Regions from separate parts of the Homo sapiens genome. Here regions 1, 2, 3, 4, 6 and 7 are each linked to region 5. Evidence: promoter capture Hi-C in 16 types of primary human blood cells and fetal thymus (Javierre and others, 2016). All regions are on one chromosome and are shown on one strand. The core of a region is centred on a gene start or on the middle of the fragment in contact, and the rest is flanking DNA. Distances in the headings are between cores, read along the strand shown.

Region 1 (2,700 bases), core at 173-2,672, 260 kb before region 5:
AACCACCATACCCAGCCCTGATTCTTCATTTTTTTTTAAAGCTTGATTTAGTACAGATGAAACTGAGTAAAGGCAAAAATGATCACTGCTGTATTATGAGAACTGTGTCATTTGTCACAACTTTTGTGTATTTACTGCCATCTAGTGTTGCCTTTAAAAATTGATGACACTTGAACACTACTTTCATTTGCAAAATAAAGAAATTTTTGTAGACTGAACCAGAGAATAGCCTACCAATGTAATAGATGAAAACATGTGAAAATGCCATTTTTTGTGGGTTAAAAATAAATACTGGCGGTGTCATAAAGTTCAGCTCTCAAGATTAAATCAATATTCAAATAATTTCCCTTAAGTAATTATCATCCTTCTTTTTGAGGCAAACTTAGTTTGCTTTTTTGATGTAATTTTTAGCAAAAGATTACTACTTTACCTGCAGAATTATGTATGTCTCCAATTTCTAAAAAATAGAAATGGCCTGATATCTTCCAAATATTAAATCTTAGATAATACTTCATTTTAGTAATGACAGTTTTAATTCTAAATTAATTGACAGTTTTAATTCTAAACTTGGCAAGATGTACCTATCAGACATGTTGAATTACTGACAATTTACCTACTAAATTTGGTTCTTTTTCTAAGGTGAAGACGAGTTAACTACTCATCCCAGAAATTACACTGCATTTCTAATGTTTAGGGCCTGGTGACCACCAAGCCTGCCTGTACCATGCATGTTTAATTCGTGGTTTAAAAAATATCATTTAATTACAGTTTCTTTTAAAAAATAAGTTTTCATGTGGCACCCCCTCTCCATCTGCCAGCAGCTGCTTAGAAGCAGAATTGAGGCCGGGCGCAGTAGCTCACGCCTGTAATCCTAGCACTTTGGGAGGCCGAAGCGGGCAGATCACAGGTCAGGAGATCAAGACCATCCTGGCTAACACGGTGAAACCCCGTCTCTACTAAAAATACAAAAAAATTAGCGGGCGCTGTGGCGGGCGCCTGTAGTCCCAGCTACTGGGAGGCTGAAGCAGGAGAATGTCGTGAATTCGGGAGGCAGAGCTTGCAGTGAGCTGAGATCCGGCCACTGCACTCCAGCCTGGGTGACAGAGCGAGACTCCGTCTCAAAAAAATAAAAAAGAAAAGAAAAGAAGCAGAATTGAGTCTTATCTGTAATACCAGAAGTATCCTCTGAGAATGAACTGAGCCTTTCCAGGTTCTTTTGTGCCCTGACTCACAGGCTTTATTTTCCTAGTTTCAGATTTGAAAGTTGCAAGCATTATACAGATAATTCCTATATATTCTTTATCAGGATTCACTGATTTTGAACATTTTGTCACACATGTGTTCTTCCTCTCTCTCAACTAAGAGAGAGGGAGGGAAGGAGAGAGAGAAACAGAGGGAGAGAAGAGAGAGAGATTTATAGATATTTGAAACTATACAAATGTGGATTCTATCCCTATACTGCCTCTTAGGGTATCACCTTGTCTTGTGAGCCCATTCCCTTGACTTCAGAGTGAGGCCAGTGCAGCCTCCCTTGCATGAGTGTTCTAAAGAGTAGAAATAACACATGTATAACTCTGATTATGTGTCTGGTATTGAGCAGGTGCTTACTAATTTGCAGGTCTTGTTACCACTCTCACAAGGCGAGGCATAGATGAGGTTGTATATGTGAAATGCCAAACACAGGGCTGAGTACTTGGTCAAGGCACAGGGGATGTGAGCTGCAGTTCTAACCAGCTTAGTATCAGAATGAAACTTTCGTTATCTTTATTATCATTTTCATGATTATTTGGTTAAGCAGGTAGTGTCACAGCATAGAGGTAGCTTGGGGTGTCAAAGTCTGGTGGTAACTGAATTAGAATCCCAGCATTTCCTTTTAATCTTTGAGTCTCAGTTTCCTTGGATATAAAATGGAGACATTGGTAGTGTACACAAGAAGTGTCAGGCACCATGTTTGATGCAGAGGAGGAAGTGGAAAATTGATAACAGTTTATAGCACCACTGTTGTTAATGAGTTCCTCTTTCAGCAATTAGTTCATATGACTCTGTCAGCTCTAGATTTGTTGTCATGGGCCAGGCTCTCCATCATAGCATTGCATTGGTTCCGTCTGTGTTACAGTTTGCTGCTTACATGTTTATCTCCCTCTCTTACGTACCTTCTATCTGTGGCATGGCTGTTTTCTTCTCTCTGCTGATCTTACTTCCACGCCTCAGCCTAGCCCTCCCTCCCTCTCATTCATCCCTCATCAAGACTTGCTGATTCTGACTTCTGAATATTTGTTTCGGCTCTCTCCCTTGTCACTGAGTTCATGTTCTTACCATTTCTCATCTAGACATACTTTTTAAAACAGCTGTGGTGAGCATAACTCACACACCATACAATTCCCTTATTTAAAGCATACAGTTCAGGAGCTCTCACCTAAACTTTTACAGCAGATCTTTTTTACAGAAGGAAAGCCTTCTGGCTTTCCTGCTTTTCCTCCTTTGGCCCATGCTCTCTACTGCTGGAGTGGTTATTCCTAAATGAAACTCTGATCATATTTCTCTTCCGCTGTGGCCCTCACATGGGTGTCCATGGCTTACAGAAGAAATGCGTTAGTCGAATGCCAGATGTTTGTTAGTCTCCTTCCCCTTCACTTCCCCTGGCTTCCATTCCATCCTTGGATAACCTAGGACCCTTTGTGAAAGTCACTGTTATCATTT
Region 2 (2,700 bases), core at 171-2,670, 280 kb after region 5:
GCTCCTTCCAGCCAGGTGACCTCCGGCTTCAGAGGACTAGGAAGGAGGCAGGCAGCCACGTCTGGGGGTGCACGTGGCACCATGGAGGCGTGGAGGTCCTCCCTCGAGAGACTCCAGAACACCAACTGTAGCCAGCATTGTTGAGCATCTCCCATGCCAGACCCTGTGCCAGGTACCTGATAAGACAGTTCCTCTACTTCCTGCAACCTCCCTGGAAGGGAGGTATCATTCCTCACATTGGGAAGCTGAGGAAACTGAGGCATAGACAGCTTATGTCAGTTTCTTACAGCCTCATAGCTAAGTGGCAGAGTTAGACTCAAACCCAGGTCTAGCTAACTCCATCAGTTTATTAGCCGGAGTTTTGACCCTGCTATTATAGAAGCCTAAAAGAATAAGAGTTGTTTCTCCACCTGCCTTTCTTCTCCAAGCAAGCAAGCAAGCAAGCAAACCCGGAGAGCTGGAAGCCATCCTCTTCCTGCCCCAGGATAGAATAAAAAGGCCTTTGCTTTAAAAGCCAACCAAGGCTCCTAAAGGTAAATTGAGCTGGGCTGTCTGACTGATATCAGGTCACCTAGGTGAGGACAGGCTTGGAGCCAGACAATTTGATTTAGAAAAGTAATGCTGTTGTTCAGCTAAAAATGGTAGACTAAGCACCTGCTATTCTCTTTCTTTCCTCCTGAAATATGAAAATAACAGTAAAGTGTTCTTATTTTTAAAGAACAAACCTCTAAGGATAAAGAGAACAGGAAAGCAGTCAACCATAAAAGCAAAATTCAGGAAGCTGGAAAGCAGGTGAATGAGTAGCAATGGCCTGAGCAGACTCATGAAAGCTGAATCCTAAACTAGAAGGCAGGTCAAAACTCAACATGATTTACACCAAGGGAGCCCCCAACAGGTAAAGGACTGGTGCTGATAGGATAAAAAACAAAAGGATTGGCTGAAAGTCGACTTAAGAAGAAGCTAGACACCCAGATCTCCATACTGTGAAGTCAGGCAGCTGCCCCTCCTGCACCCAGCAGAAGACTGAAAGTTTGTTCTATGGAGAGAGAAAGCTAGGGAAGCTACATGCTGGGAGACACCTGGGACAGTTGAGGGCAGTGGGGACTATACTGAAAACAGGAGTTTTAAGAGAACATTTACATGCTGAACATTGAAATATTGCAAGGGCCCCCCAAGTATCCAACACAATGGCTAAAAAGTGAGACCTTAGTGGTATGGAATTCAGATATTTGCAATTGCCCCACACACTTGTATTTTGATGAGATCACCCACTAGCAACAGTATGTCCTGTTTCCATGGTCATGGAGACAGTTTGTTGCTGCAGCCATTAAAAGCAAAAGCTTCAATAGCAATGGCTGCTTGGGGCCACCTATCCTGAGCTTCACCACTTGGCAGTGCTGTGCCTCTCACCTGCTCTCCTATGACTATCAGGTGTGTGATACTGAGGGGTACACAACCCGGAAGTATAGGGAAACTTATGTCGAGTGGAGCAAAGCTTTGATCATTGGGAGACTGAAGACAGTGGGTAAATTCAAGTGGTCCTGAATTCAATTTATGCAGCTTCTTGGATAGGTCCATAGGATCACACAATCAATTGCCTGTAGCAGCAGCCAGCTTGATAATACATCGCCATATCATCTCTCCTGTTTCCCTGCTTCTCTTTGGGTGTTTCCTGAGATTGTACTCCCAAATAACAGCACATAAGCCTCCAGCCTCGGGCTCTGTTATTAGAAAACCAGGTTAAGACAAACCAAGGCACATCATTGTAAAGCTTCAGAACACTGGGGAAAATATCCTCCAAGTTTCCAGAGAGAAAGGGAGAAAAAAATAAAACAAGTTTTATACCAAGTAATCAAGAATCAGAATGGCTGTGGACTTCTTTACTACAATACCCGAGGCTAGAGCACCATTGAGCAAAGCCTTCAAAATCTGACAGAAAATTATTTCTTTTAATTCTATACTCAAGCCAAACTATCAATCAAATATGAGGGTAGAATGAAGGCAATTTCAGGCATATAACATTTCAACATGGTTTACCCCTCCTGTAGTCACTTTTAACAAGCTATTGGTTAAATTACTCCACTAAAACCAGGAGGTAAGCCAAGAAAGAGGAAGACATGGGATGCAGGAAACAAAGATGCAAAACAAGAGAGGCAAAGAGACTCGTGGGATGCTGGGAAAGGAGGATCCTAAGCCAACGGCTGTGCACCGACCAAGAAAGCGACCAGCTCAGAAGGAGCAGGTCAAAAGGCTCTGGGCAGGGGGTTTCCAAAGAAAGAAATTGATGTGTGCTTGAGTCTATTAAGAGGAAGTTGGCTTGTGATAAGTACATGAAAAAAACTAAGGAAACAAAAAAGATGATTACTAACTAGAGAGAAACAGAAAGGTGCCCAGGAAAGGAAAGGTGATCATAATATAATACAGCAGTCCCTACCCCTTATCCTTGGAAGATACGTTCCAAGCCCCCCAGCGGATGCCTGAAACCTTGGACAGTACCAAATCCCATTGCCATAAATCAGAACACATTTCTAGAAGTTCATGTCTTCCACCCACAAATTGAATGCCTTTTCCATCTTAATGAAGCACTTATCACACACTTTGGCTGTAACTTTTGCCACAGTTTGAGGTGCAGCAGCAAAACTAGCATGAATTTCTCTTTCTTCAGAAGACAATTTCACAGATAGCAGATTCATTCTTACT
Region 3 (2,700 bases), core at 195-2,694, 260 kb after region 5:
CTCTGCACTTGCCACCCCCACCCACACACACATACACTTCCACCAAGAGAGCTCTGTGTTCTTTCATTAGGTGGGTTTAGCTAATTTACATTACTTGATATGCCATACATATTTAGTCTTAGTTCTGTTGTAATATTTTATGGTATATTTTCTGTATTGTAAATTCAAAATAAAATTCTAAGCCCCCTGACCATCTGAATGGACCCCTCCTTTTGGCCAAGGGCCTTCCAAAGTTAACCTGAAAAACTGGTTCAGGCCATGATGGGAAGAGGAAGCCAGACATGCCTCATTATACCGTCCTCCCTTTTGAAATTTAGGCCCAGCTGACCAGCATTGACATCAACACAGACCTTAAGACTGTTAGAACAGCCTCTTTATGTCTGATAAGAAACATTTACAGTCTATTTCCTCAAGCCAGCTACCTAGAGGCTCCAACTGCATGATAAAGCCTTGGTCTCCACAAGCCCTTATCTTAACCCAGACATTCCTTTCTATTGATTCTAAGTCTTTAGACAATAACTTAACTCTTTCAATCAATTACCAATCAGAGAATCTTTGAATCTACCTATGACCCAGGAACCCCTGCTTCCAGTTGTCCTTCCTTTCTGGACCAAAGCAATGTACCTCTTAAATGTATTGATTGATGTCTTATGTCTCCTTAAAATGTATAAAACCAAGTTGTAGTCTGATCACCTGTTCTCAGGATCTCCTGAGGGCTGTGTCACAGGCCATTGGTCACTCATATTTGGCTCAGAATAAATCTCTTCAAATATTTTACAGTTTGACCTTTTCATCAACAATATTTATAATATTTGAAGTCTTGTACTATGTTTTCTTTTCTCTTACTTTTACTTTGTCTTTTGGTGTATATTTCTTATAATATTTAGGAAATTTTGATTTGGGTCCTAATTATTACCTTTATTATTGTATGCCCTTAATTGTCTGGTTCTTTAGACTGTAGCTCTTAATCCCCTAAAAAGAACAATATTAAAATTATTTCCTCTTCCCCCTCCTTGCCCTCCCTTTCCTCTACCATTCAATTTTCATAACTAGTATTATCTTTTTAAATGTTTATCTTTGTACAATTAAATGTGTTTACATTTCTATATATTTCTCAGCTTTAAATGATATTCTTTAGTTCTCTGCTATTATTAATGAAATAAACAGCATATTAATTCTTTCTCCCACCTTTTGCCTTCATCCCCCATCCAATTGTTTATATTTGTGTCATACGCATTGGTACAATAGGAAGCGTATACATTCGATTCCATCTCTCTAATACCCACATTTGTTCAGGTCTTAGTTATTCAGTTAATATATTGTATGCACACTCTTGTCCCTTTGGACCCAGTTTCCCATTATTTCTTGGTTGACTGAAATTCACATGGGAACAATATTCTCTGATTTCTTGCATGTTCCAACTGTTTTCTACAGCATTCATACATGAAGTAAAGTTGCCTACATAGAAAATACTTGGCTTACAGTTTCTTTCTTTGAATAGCTTATGGGTTCTGCTCCACTGTTTTGTAAGGTTAAGGGAAATCTAAGATTGAACTGATTTTTTACCCTGCCTGGCTGCCCTAAGAATTCTTTCTTTTTCTTTAACATCCAGTAACATTCCTAAGATCTATCAGTGTTGACTGTTTCGGGTCAGCTTTTCTTGGCGTGCAATATGCCCTATTAGAAAAGGTAAACACAAGTCTTTTTATTTCATGAGAATTTTCTTGAGCTAAATATTAAATATTTCTTCCATTCCATGACTTTATTTTACTTTTTTCTTTAGGCTCTTCAATTATGTACACGGTGGCTCTCCTTTATCTTCCTTATATGTTTCTTACCTTCTCTTTAATCCTTTCTAACTATTTTCATTTCATTTTGTTCACTGTTCTTGTTTTTATACTCTATTTGACTTACTGTGTTTTACCTAATATTTATTCACCCTTTCTGTTATTTTCCACTTTTCCCTACTTCTTTCCAGCTCATATTTCACATCTTTCCATTTTACCATTTTTTCTTGAGTTCTTGCATTTCTGCTTTGTGGTATTTATTCACAGAGGGTACTTTAAGTTTTAAAAATTCATTGTGATAAGATTGCTCAAAATTCCACTGTCTCCAGGTAATATTTTCAGGTGGCCAGCCCTCATCTGTTAAGAAACATTGCTGTTCTTTGTCTCCTTTTTTCTCACAGTATCTCTGCATAGATGCTGGACTGTTTTTATTGTATGAGTTGGACCAGTCAATTGAAAGAGGTTCCTGTAGAACCCCGGTGGAATTTGAAATCAACCGGTTTTCATGATGCAGATGCTTTCTTCTTCTCATCTACCCCATGACCAGGCTGCATCCTGCAAATATGGCTTGTTGGCATGGCTCTTTATGTATCACAGTGTCCTCTGCTTTTCTAATCCCAATAGTCCAGCTGGATCCTCTGAGCCACTAAACTTGCCCCCATCCCATTTCCACACCCTCTTTTGCAGACAAGCGGGGGATGGTGATTCTGCTCCTCAGGTGTGTCACTCACCTTCCGGCATATTTCATTGGTGCTTTCTGAGATCTGCCAACTTGGGCTCCCTCTTCCACTCTTTCTCACTTCCTCCAACACTGCACCTGCATGAAACTGGCTGCTTCTTACGCTGTTCCCAAGTATTTTGGTGACTGCCTCCTAATTTATCTGAAAAAGGAATTTGCATTTTGTCTTCCATC
Region 4 (2,700 bases), core at 3-2,502, 360 kb before region 5:
GAGCCAGACTCCATCTTAAAAAAAAAAAAAAAAAAAAAGCGGGCTAAAACCCACCAAAACCAAGAAGGCCACGAGAGTGACCTCCGATCGATCACCCTCACCGCTACACTCCCACCAGCACCATGACAGTTTACAAGTGCCATGGCAATGTCAAGAAATTACCCTGTATGGTCTAAAAAGGGGAGGCATGAATAATCTCCTTGTTTAGCATATAATCAATGAATAACCATAAAAATGGGCAAGCAGCAGCCCTTGGGGCTACTCTGTCTATAGAGTAGCCATTATTTTATTCCTCTACTTTCTTAATAGACTTGCTTTCACTTTACTCTATGGACTCGCCCTGAACTCTTTCTTGGCAAGATCCAAGAACCCTCTCTTGGGGTTTGGATCCAGACCTCTTTCCTGTAACAGGGCCACTTTCTCCCTGCCCATTGGCAGAAGATGAAATTTTCCACCTCCAAATGTTTGTCTTCCCTGGATTTAAGCTAGTCTGACCTGCCTCAAGGTTAGAAATTCAGGTTGAAAAGTTAATGAATGCATTTTTATTTTGTATTTATGTGAATAAAGTATAAAACTTTATACGTGAGGAGCCCAGAGGAGGGTGAGATTCTGGAAACTTGGATAGGTAAGAGAAGGTCTCCTGGGCTTCAGCCTGGCTGTAACAAGTAACCTAGATGGAGGTTGGTTCCCTTGAGAGAGGTGAAGAAAGAATGTAACAATGAGTTGGGCACGACAGCCAAAGTAGAGAGATGAGGGCCTTTAATGGTAATAGTAGTAGTTGAGGCCACAGCTATGCTAATCACTGTTCATGTATTTAAACTTGTTTAATCCCTACATAAACCTATGAATTCTGAGCTATTGTTACCCCTTTACAAATGAAGTAACTGAAACCCAGAAAGGTTTAGTCTATCTATGTCACACTACTGTTAAGTGATTGCATCAGAATCCTAAACTCTGCAATCTGTCTCCTTCCAGAGCCCATGGGGATATGGCTGAAAAGTAATTAGAATTAGACAGTAAAAGGATTTGAATACTTCGAATACAGAGTAGTGTAATATGATGGTTAATTTTATGTCTTAACTTCACTGGGTTAAAGGATATCCAGAAAGCTGGTTAAACATTATTTCTGGGTGTGCCTGAGAGGATGTTTCCAGAAGAGATTAACATTTGAATCAGTAGTCTGAGTAGAGAGGAATTTGCTCTCACCAAGGTGTGTGGGCATCACCCAAGCCGTTGAGGGCCTAGAGAGAATAAAACTGTGGGAGGAGGGTGAATTCACTCTCTCTTCTGGAGCTGAGACAGCCATCTTCTGCCCTCGGACATCTAAGCCCCAGGTTCTCAAGCCTTCAGACTCTGGGGCTTATACCAGCGCTCCCCCAACTCCCCAACACACACCACTGGCTTTCCTAATTCTCCAACTTGCAGACAGCAGATCATGAGATTTCTCACCCTCCATAATCATGTGAATCAATTCCCATAATAAATCTCTTATCTATCTATTTATCTATGGGTATAGAATACACACACACACACACACACACACACACACACACACACATATATACACATATCTTTTTGGTTCTGGTTCTTTGAAGAATCCACACTAATACATCCAGTCTTCTGGACTGGACCCATAAATCAAAGGAATCATACTCCAATGGCAGACTTCCAGACCTTAACAGTTGGAAGGTCGAAGAGAATTTTCTTCTTTGGGAAGGGAGGGTGCTTTTCTTTCCCGCTTTTCACAACAAGCCAGTCTTTACCTTCCAGATGTTGTACCCCCACCTTCAGGGATGACTCCATAATACTTGAAAGGGACAGTTTGTGTGACCAGCACAAATTTCTCATTTTAGAACCGAACTAGAAGTAAACAGTCATATGAGTCTATGTAAAGAAAGAAGAGGCCAGGTGTGGTGGCTCACACCTGTAATCCCAGCATTTTGGGAGGCTGAGGCAGGCAGATCACCTGAGGTCAGGAGTTCAAGACCAGCTTGGCCAACATGGTGAAACCTTGTCTCTACTAAAATACAAAAATTAACTGGGCGTGGTGTGGTGGCAGGCACGTGTAATCCCAGCCACTCAGGAGGCTGAGGTGGAAGTTGCAGTGAGTCAGGATTGCACCACTGCACTCCAGCCTGGGCATCAGAGCAAGACTCCGTCTCAAAAACAAACAAACAAAAAGTAGAGACTACTGACTCAGCATGACCATAACCATGGCTCTGTCTTCTAAGGCTCCTTCCACCATAAATTTGTTATCTTAGTTCTCTAACTCAAAGACGAATTCACAATCTCAGCCACACATGCTGTTACAATGAGCATATACAAGGATCAGGACAGGTAGCAGGCAGAAGTGTGCCCTTGGTCTACTCTCCCTCCTCCTCATCATCCCTGCTCAAAATAGGGAAGTGGAAAGAGTCCCCTCTTAGAAGCATGGGAATTAGAACTCCTCGAATCTTTTGTTTTCACATTGTATCAGAGTAAAACAACTAAAATTTACATACTAAAACAAGCTAATCTATAACTTTGAACATGACTCTGCAGAAAAATAAGAAACTTCCCACAGACGTTTTCCACTAGTCAACTAAGCTACTTAAAACAGGTAGAGGCCAGGCGCAGTGGCTCATGCCTGTAATCCCAACACTTTGGGAGACTGAGGCGGGTGGATTGCCTGAGTTTAGGAGTTTGAGACCAGCCTGGGCA
Region 5 (2,707 bases), core at 190-2,689:
TTAATCATCACTTGTACAGTACATTCCTCTTCAAGAATCCAATTCCAAGAGAAATATTTAAGCAGACGTTGAGGACAGATTTCCTTAAGGGAATTATTTTATAAATCTGGAAAGCAATGTAACGAGATTATAAATTAACAAACTGATTACATAAGCCTTGACAACCCGGGCTTTAAAGTACACTGCTGTATATATTCTGATAAGTTAAAGACTGGTTTGGGACATAGTGCTCCAATCCCATACAAGGAGCCCAAACTCAGGCATTTCATGTTTGATAGGAACTTGGTGGAGATTCAACAGGATGTCCAACACTTGCAAGCCATGCTTCACCTTAAAACCTGACAAAATGTTTAAGGCATTAAGTCAACTTTACCACGGTTCCTAAGACTTTAAGAATGCACATAATTAAAGGGAAGGGGGGTGGAAAGTAACATGACAGTTTGAAAGGTCCCATATCCTCAGACCTCTATAGATTTAGGAACTCCACTGCTAAATTCTCCCCAAAGCCTGAAACTCCCTATGAAACTACTGGACTGTATGCGATCCAACAGTTACAAATAGCACAGCTCCAAGAACCCCGAAGATAAAAGGCTGCCACTTTCCTGCAACCCAAGTCCAAGTAAAAGGCAGGAAGGTCCCTGTAAAATGGACCAGAAAGAAATCAACAGGCGATGACTATGGAAAAGAACGTAGATTTCCCAGTCTCCCAGTCTGCAAAAATTCTAGCTCTCCCTCGGGAATGGCACTGCTCCTCTTTCCTTACCCCTTTGCCCTTTCTCTACAGACAACATCCCCACTCTATTGTAAAGCAGTTTGACCACGGAACCCTTTTGCTGAGGCCGGATTTCTACAGTCTTCTGAAAGGGGAAAACGCATTCAAAGAACACACACCCTACCAAGCGCCCAGGGCGCGGGGCCCCGCGGGCGCCGCACTCGGCCCGCTCCGGGGCGGGGCGCGGGGATGCGGGCGCCTTCCGAGGTGCCGCAATCCCGCCGCGGCCGCAAGGGCAGGGCCTCCAGGCGACCGCGGCCGCCGCCGCAGTGACGGCTCCCGCCGGGCCCCGCCGCCGCCCCGCCGCCAGGCCGCGCCGCGGGGTCCGGGCCACCGCAGCCCGGGCCCCGCGTCCTCCCGGGCCGCGCGCTGCGGCCGGCGCCGAGAGCGCAACTTACTTTCCGCCTGCGGCGAGCGCCCCGGCCCGGGCGCCCAGCCCGGCAACAGCGGAGGCTACTGAGGCGGCGGAGGCCGGCCCCGCACCCCTGCCTACGGCCGCCGCGCCCCGCCGCGCTCCGCGCTCGCCCCTACCTCAGCCGGCAGGCGAGCGTCCGTCCGCAGCGGCCGCGGCGCCGACAACTCCCTCCCGGCCGCCGAAACCCCGCACCCAGCGCTAATCATAATACCGAGCGGGCTGCCGGCCGCGGGGAGGGGGTGCCGGGTAGCTGCGCCTGCGCGGGCTGCGCGTCACTGTGACGTCAGCGCTGGGGCGGGGCCGCGGGAAGGGCAGGGCGGGGCGGCGCGCACCTGCGGCCGGCGCGCGGGCTGCTGGAGGGCATCCTGGCGGCTTTCTGACCCCGGCGAGTCGGGGCTGAGGCGGCTGGCGGGACAAAGCGGGCAAGGCGCCCAAGGAGGATGGAGGACGGGGGAGGAGGAAGCACCAGGGACACGGAACAATGGCCGGGAAAAAGTAGCGCGAGCTGTCAGGGGAAATCGGAGGGAAGGGACCGCGTCTGTACAGGACTGCGTCTTGGCGGCAGGGGGCAGGGAGCCGCACGCGCTTTACTCTTTGGTTCCCGCCCAGGTTTAAACAAGGATAAAAAAATTGTAAAAATACATATACATACACACATGCACATATGTATATACATATATATACATAATATGATTTTTTTCTCTGTAGTTTCTTCTCCCTGGGACTCTAATTTGAAAAAATTCGGTTGATTTTGTTGTTATTTAAGCAAAATTGGAAAAGCCCAACATCTGAATGCAGTGCTGGCCTTAAAGGTCAGCGGGAGACACAGGCCCTGCTAGGCAGCCTCTGGCAACAGCATAGAAAAGTAAACGGTCGTGGGGACACATCAAAGCACGTGAAGTCAGAGATTCAAAACACGCCGGGCATTAACCATAGCCCTTGATGGTTCAGTGGTATGGTCGCCAGGCCAGGTTGCTCTGGAAGGGAGCTTAGGGATGGCCGCAGAGGGTGGGAGGGGACTCCCGACTCCCACCCCTGGAAGCATGGCATGCAATAGAGACCAGCTCTTCAGGGTTCCTGGAAGGGAACACCAACAAACCAGACGCCAGATTTCTTCAACCTGCTTTTCCCCTTCTGTTCCCACGTTGTGTCCACCCTTCCCCAAGAAAGGACCCCTAGCAAGGAAGGACACAAGCCAGAAGAGCTGCGGAGATGCTGCAGGCTTGGTTGAATTGACTGGACTGCGAAGAGAAATCTAGATGGTTTTAGCAAATCTCTGTTGACCTGCAAATGTCAAAAGCCTTTTAGCTTCTATGCATCAACTTTGCATGTCTGAAGATGATTGGGAAGCAGGAGTGGATTGTTGGGAGGTGCAAACAGTTTGATTCTTAGGGTAATAACATAGGGTTTTCTGATCAAGGGGACTCCCAGTTACCCTAATACCCTTGCATCAGGTGGTGGGAGAGCACCAGGGAAAGCCTCAGATTAGGCCTCTGCGCCTTAGGGTCCCACCTGGGATC
Region 6 (2,787 bases), core at 80-2,579, 470 kb before region 5:
ACACCCAGAGATGACCTTGTTAACCATTTTTCTCAGAGTCCACAATCTCCAGTGGAATCTGTTTCTCCCTGGTTCTGTAACAGTCAAGCCTTGTGTTTCCTCCTCATAATTTTGCAACCTGATTGTAACAACAGTCCTCACTAACACATCCTAAATACAATAATGCAATTCAAGCAAGGCAAGTTCAAAAACACTTTCCATTTGGAAGGGGGTGAGGTTGATAAATCTCCAGAACAGCCCCTTAATCCAGAGCAAACTTCATCCAAGGTTACATGGCAGCATGGGCCCCCTTCCACAGCTGCTACTGAAGGGGAGGATTCTTGTGGATAATCAGGAACATGGTGGGACCAGAGAATTCCACAAGCATCACTGTTGACTTGTCTCTCTGGCACAGGGGGAGTTCTTTGGTCAGCAAACCTGGCTTCCAGATAGGTAGGGCCCATATCTTAGTTCTTCTTTTTTCTTTTTTTTTTTAATTTTGTCTTGGTGCTTTATACACTGTTTCTTATAGTGTTTACTAAGACACAGTCTCTGCCCACAATGAACTTTGGTACATTGTGAAAATATCATGTGCAGAAGATGGAAAAAGTGCAGAGTCTCTGCACTTGGTGTTCAGAATGCAGAAAAGAAAGGAGAATGGCTGAGGTATGAGCTGGTTGCTGCTGGTTGGTGAACAGATGCCATTAACTGGCAAGGAAGAGGCTGGTGTGGACTGCAGAGCTGGTGACACCTTAAGCTTTTTTGCACTTCCAGGGGGCCAAGCAAGGCAGAAGCAGTCATTGTTCTTTTCCCTGTACCTGTCTCCTTCAGGACAGGCACATTTGGCTGAGCACAAATAAGAATCATTTGCAGAAGAGCTCTAAGAGAGGAAGGAGTCCAAAAACCTTTGACCTAGGATTATGACTCTCACTGAAAGTTGTAAGAACTGACCTTTGACCTAGGATTATGACTCTCATGTAAGATGTAAGAACTGAGAGTCATTGCAAAAAGGCTGCAAGATCTCAGATCTGCAGGACTGTGGGCTGTCTCCTCTAAATGCAAAGAACTGGGGCCTAGGTCTCACGAGATAAACATCAGTGATGAGGGCAGTGGGCTGGTGGCGAAAGAGGCAGAGAAAACAGCAGCTCTGGTAACTGCTATTTTAAACACTTTTATTAAAGCAACAAAAGAAGAAGAAGAGGAGGAAGAGGAAGAGGAAGAAGGAGAAGAAGAAGGAAAGAAAGAGTGAGCTCACATAGAAAGCTTAACCTCTATTAAATCTTAGAGGCAGATTAGAAATAATTATAAAATTCGATACGCACAAATGGGAATGCATAGGTTTAAGGAGTGAGTGGATTAATTGCACATGACTCCAAACGTGGGCTAAGGAGGTAGACAAGATGCCTCTTCCTGAGTGTGTGACTTTAAGGAAGCTTCTTAAGACCTCCAACTTCAGTATCCCTGAGGGGAAATCTTTAAATGGAGATAGTGGCACCTACCTCCCAGGGTACTGTGAACATTAAGTAACTATTGCCTAGCAAGCCTTTGGTAGAATGTGTGGCACGTAGTACATGCTCAGTAAAAAGTGATTGACGTTGCTGTTCCATGAACTAGACAGGCTTTAAAGTCAAGTTCCAAAAATATCTGAGTGGTATCCACATCTTCAAAATGAGCAGCCAGCCTCTCAGCATGGAACCCTTTGAAGGAGCCACACTGGCAGGTAGGAACAGCCATGCTGAAGGGCTCAGGGAGCAGGAACCGGGCCACCTGCACAGGGAGGGTTTCCTTCCACTTCAGAGCAGGTAAATGGTTTCACTTCCCATCCAGCTCAGGTAGATTGATGATGGCTACCAGGATTTCAGCCCCAACAAGGATGACAAGGCAAGGGTCCTTCAGGATGGAGTAGCCATGCCTTTCATGGGGACAGGAGAAAGGTGGGTTGACTTAATAGGCTACAGATCCAGAAGTTAAATTTGTGCCATTGTTCGGCATAATCATAGTATTATTTAGTGAGAGTTCACCATGTCTGAGCAGTAATTGTCAGGGTGCTTTACATTTATGTATCATCTTATTTGATCTTACATCAATCCTGTGAAGAGGGTACATTATAATCCCCGTTTTTCACATGGGTCTTACGGACTAAGTCAACTGCTTGAGGTCACTTGTAGCAGATTCAGCCACTGCCCAAGTGTTGTGAACAACAACTCCCATGTGCCTGGCTTCTGTCACTTTTGAGAACAGCTGCCTCTGACTACCAGGGTCTACTTTGCCTACCCACAAGAGTCTGGGGTCCTTGGGAATTTAGGTGTGCCAGGTAAGCCCTGAACCTTAGACTGTTGGGTGCAGGGCTATAAATGTTTCTAGCTCCCTTGCCTTTGACAGGCACACTCAGGTGTGGTCTCCACTGACCCCAGAGCTCCACCAGAATTGAGCCAAGTGGGAGCCTTTCCTCCTCCTTCTATGGGACTGTGTTCGATGCTGCCCCTTTGCACCCTGCCTGGCCTCCTTCCCTTCCTGGCCCCACTCTCCTGTCCCCCTATTGTATTTTCCTAGGAGTATTCTGCAATGAAACACTTTCGTGCAAAGGTTTATCTAGTGGTCTGCTTCTGGGAAAACAGACCTGCGAGGTCACTTGGTTGTAAGTGCCAGAGCCTGAGTTCAACTCAGGTTCACGGTGTAAACTGCCTCAAAGAGAACCACCCCACCAGAACCAGTAATAATAAATGTGCAAAGACGGAAGACCTAAATAGAATTCTCACCAATGCTCGGGGGCCGAGTCCCAAGCAAGGCCTGGCTGTGAAAGCTGTG
Region 7 (2,700 bases), core at 178-2,677, 480 kb after region 5:
AGTACGCTAGAGCCGGGGTAGTGGGCCAGCACTCACCGGCCCAGCCAATCCAGGACCCGCTCTGCACTGCCCCACCCGCCGCGCACACGCACGCGTCCTTTTGCGGCCGCTGGCCTCTGATTGGCTGGGACGGCTGTGGGTGGGGAGAAGCCGGGAGGACTGGGTGCGCCTGCAGGGATCGGAAGCCGGTTGGGGTGTGAGAGGTTTTCTCGCTCTAGGTAAGCGAAACAAGCCGGGGGACTGCGAGCCAGGGACTCGGGCCGCGGGGCGGGAAGAAGTGGGGCAGCGCTTGGCCAGGCCGAAAGGACTTTGGGGGTGGGGGCTGGGAGTCCGTGTCTCGAATGAGGGAGGAGAGGTGGAGTTGCCGGGGCTCAGGCCCGGCCTCGAGCATGGGCGGATGAGAGGAGTCGGGAGCCGAGGCCTAGGGTCCTTCGGGTGAGGGGAGACGGAGCCAGCGAGGAGATGGAGCAGAAGCTTGTGGAGTGAGTTGCCGAGCGGGGAAGACTCGCTGATGGGGTGGTAATGAGAGACGGGGGCCAGGAGGGTGTTGACTGGGCCCGACGGCGGGGAGCGAGGAGCGGGAGCTTCCCCGGAGCTTGGAACATTCTGAAGAGCGGGCTAAGCGGCAGGCGAGGCGGGATAGGAGAGCGAGCGCTCCGGTCACGGAGTCACGACAAGGTCACAGGAAGAGAGGCGGCGAGGAAGGTCGGGAGGTTGAGGGGAGGGCGTACTAGCAGAGGACCTTCCAGTCCTGGTCTTGCTTTTCTCCCCGACCTGGTGTTTCCTCCACCCTGGGAAAGTGATAAGGCCTAGGGTCCTGTGTAGTGCTTCTGTGACCGAATTAAATTTTTCTCCTGCCGAGTCGGCGGGTTAGAGATTACAAAGCACAGCGTAAGGGCAGAATTAGGAGCAGCCGACATGATGCAGCAGTGATATTCGCCTTTGTCTTAAATTCCCGGAGTGGGAAGCAGCTATTTCCCTCTTCGGAGTAATCCCCACGACAGGGATCCCTGCTTCCGGAAGTACAAAGGCACTTTGGAGTAAGACAGGTTTGGATGGAAAGTTCTAACAGGTTGAAGCGGTGACAACCTGGTCATGAAGCTCCAGCATGACACACATATTTGGAGTCCTGTATACTAGGAGTTCTCTTTGTGCACCAGAGTCACTTGAAGGGGCTTCTTAAAGATTCCTTGAGCTCTGCCCCAGACCACCTGAATCCGGATCTCCATGCTGGGGCCTTGGCAGCCATTTTAAACAAGCTGATGGGCGACTGATGCAAAATCAGTTTGAAGCCAGCGTTGCTTTAGATAGTAATTCCCGTGACAAAATGACTGTGAAGAAAGATCCTTCATTCAACCTGTTACGTCTCCTGATGCTGGACGGCTCATCTTCCCTTAATGCCTCTTTAGGTTCCCTGTGGAAAGGTCTTCAGTCGTGTCTTACTAAGCGTACAGAATTAATTTGTGCTCTCCAAACTGACTTTAAATATCTGGTTACTGGTGCCTTTTTTAGCGTCTATTCAACTTTCTGACAGAAATCTGGGACAACTACTGTGGGTGGATGAGAAAACGATAATGAAGGAAAGTCTGGCAGTGGTGTAGTGAAAAAAGTCTTTTCAAATCACAATTGAAATTGTTAGATGAGTTAAGTCACTGAAGAAGATTCCGTTTACCTTAGGCATGATTTTTTTATATATATCATTCAAAGAGAACAACGTGGGCTTCTGTTGAGTAATGGATTCTTAAATTTTCTAATCAGAATTCTTATCTGCCAATTTAATCTAATTTACATCAGCAGCGTAAGATTGATGCTTTGGCAATATATCGTCAATCAAAAGAACCCAGGACTCTCTATCAGAAGAGCTGGATTCTAATCCTACCCCACCAGACATGTATTCCTTGTACTGAGCAATTCGTATAACCCTCTCACAACCCTTTCCCCACCTGTAAAATAAGGCTATTGGCTTGGATTATTCATCTGATTTGTTACTCTCAAATTATATGATTAGAACTTATTGTTCCTGATACTTAACCAGTTTTCAATTCAGGTGGCTATAAACCATGAATACTTTGGAAACTTCTACGTGGTAATTAGACAGTTATCAAAATTTTGTATTCAGAGAGTATTTTAGATATGTACTATATGGGAATTATAATATTTTGACTACAGAATAACAAATAACTGATATGTGTTGGATTTTTAAATATTAATCCTTACTAATTTTATTCTGAAATGTACACATAAGGTATTCTGGAATCACAGACAGATTATCATCTGTCGTTTCAAGCAAATAATGACCATTTTGTTCCCCACACCCTGATGCTTACCGCAGGGGCTACTTTCTGAAACCCAGGTCAAATGCCCTATCCATACAAGCTTCAGAGTCTGTATCATAGATGAAGAACGGAGAAATAGGTTTTCTTCTGTTCTTGATTTATATACAGGAAAGAGACAACTAACCCCCTCCCTCCTGAAAGGAGAAAAAAAAAAAAACCTTTTGCTCCATTGACCTGTTGGAGAATTAGAGTCAGCCAGATGTGAGATAATTATAAGAAAAACTACCAACTTTCTTGCTATTTTTAAAAAACGATTTATGTCCTGTTTTTGTTTGTTTGTTGGGTCCCTCAGCAAGGGTCTTGCCTGTTGCCCCGGCTGGAGTGCAGTGGCTGGATCATGGCTCACCGCAACCTCCACTTTCCA

Evidence for each region. Contacts are between HindIII fragments. The CHiCAGO score rates a contact against its expected background, and 5 or more counts as called.
Region 1: a fragment that was not itself captured here is called in contact with the fragment with the promoter of SNRK in region 5 in 2 of 17 cell types (megakaryocytes and neutrophils); the score reaches 7.4 in megakaryocytes.
Region 2: a fragment that was not itself captured here is called in contact with the fragment with the promoter of SNRK in region 5 in 3 of 17 cell types (total CD4 T cells, naive CD8 T cells and non-activated CD4 T cells); the score reaches 6.7 in total CD4 T cells.
Region 3: a fragment that was not itself captured here is called in contact with the fragment with the promoter of SNRK in region 5 in 1 of 17 cell types (naive CD8 T cells); the score reaches 5.5 in naive CD8 T cells.
Region 4: a fragment that was not itself captured here is called in contact with the fragment with the promoter of SNRK in region 5 in 1 of 17 cell types (neutrophils); the score reaches 5.3 in neutrophils.
Region 6: a fragment that was not itself captured here is called in contact with the fragment with the promoter of SNRK in region 5 in 2 of 17 cell types (total CD4 T cells and naive CD8 T cells); the score reaches 5.6 in total CD4 T cells.
Region 7: a fragment that was not itself captured here is called in contact with the fragment with the promoter of SNRK in region 5 in 1 of 17 cell types (neutrophils); the score reaches 5.0 in neutrophils.

Annotation. Positions count from the first base shown.
Region 1 is chr3:43,541,828-43,544,527 of GRCh38, reverse strand. The region is part of intron 11 of ANO10 (anoctamin 10); the gene reads left to right. Among named protein-coding and RNA genes, the nearest start is that of ANO10, 79 kb to the left of the region's middle. The HindIII fragment of the contact is 2,758 bases long and covers 44-2,700 here.
Region 2 is chr3:43,005,727-43,008,426 of GRCh38, reverse strand. All of the region lies in intron 1 of GASK1A (golgi associated kinase 1A), which reads right to left. Among named protein-coding and RNA genes, the nearest start is that of GASK1A, 28 kb to the right of the region's middle. The HindIII fragment of the contact is 155 bases long and covers 1,343-1,497 here.
Region 3 is chr3:43,025,887-43,028,586 of GRCh38, reverse strand. The region is part of intron 1 of GASK1A (golgi associated kinase 1A); the gene reads right to left. Among named protein-coding and RNA genes, the nearest start is that of GASK1A, 48 kb to the right of the region's middle. The HindIII fragment of the contact is 8,406 bases long and covers 1-2,700 here.
Region 4 is chr3:43,646,012-43,648,711 of GRCh38, reverse strand. It overlaps a transcript of ANO10 not described here. Among named protein-coding and RNA genes, the nearest start is that of ANO10, 25 kb to the right of the region's middle. The HindIII fragment of the contact is 7,613 bases long and covers 1-2,700 here.
Region 5 is chr3:43,285,272-43,287,978 of GRCh38, reverse strand. SNRK (SNF related kinase) reads right to left here and starts at 1,439. Exons shown (of 7, transcript NM_017719.5): 1 at 1,304-1,439. RefSeq lists silencers at 905-954, 1,195-1,594 and an enhancer at 1,199-1,699. The HindIII fragment of the contact is 7,817 bases long and covers 1-2,707 here.
Region 6 is chr3:43,755,999-43,758,785 of GRCh38, reverse strand. No RefSeq gene overlaps it. Among named protein-coding and RNA genes, the nearest start is that of ABHD5, 66 kb to the right of the region's middle. The HindIII fragment of the contact is 170 bases long and covers 1,245-1,414 here.
Region 7 is chr3:42,801,954-42,804,653 of GRCh38, reverse strand. HIGD1A (HIG1 hypoxia inducible domain family member 1A) reads left to right here and starts at 164. Exons shown (of 4, transcript NM_014056.4): 1 at 164-218. RefSeq lists a silencer at 1-208. The HindIII fragment of the contact is 1,902 bases long and covers 477-2,378 here.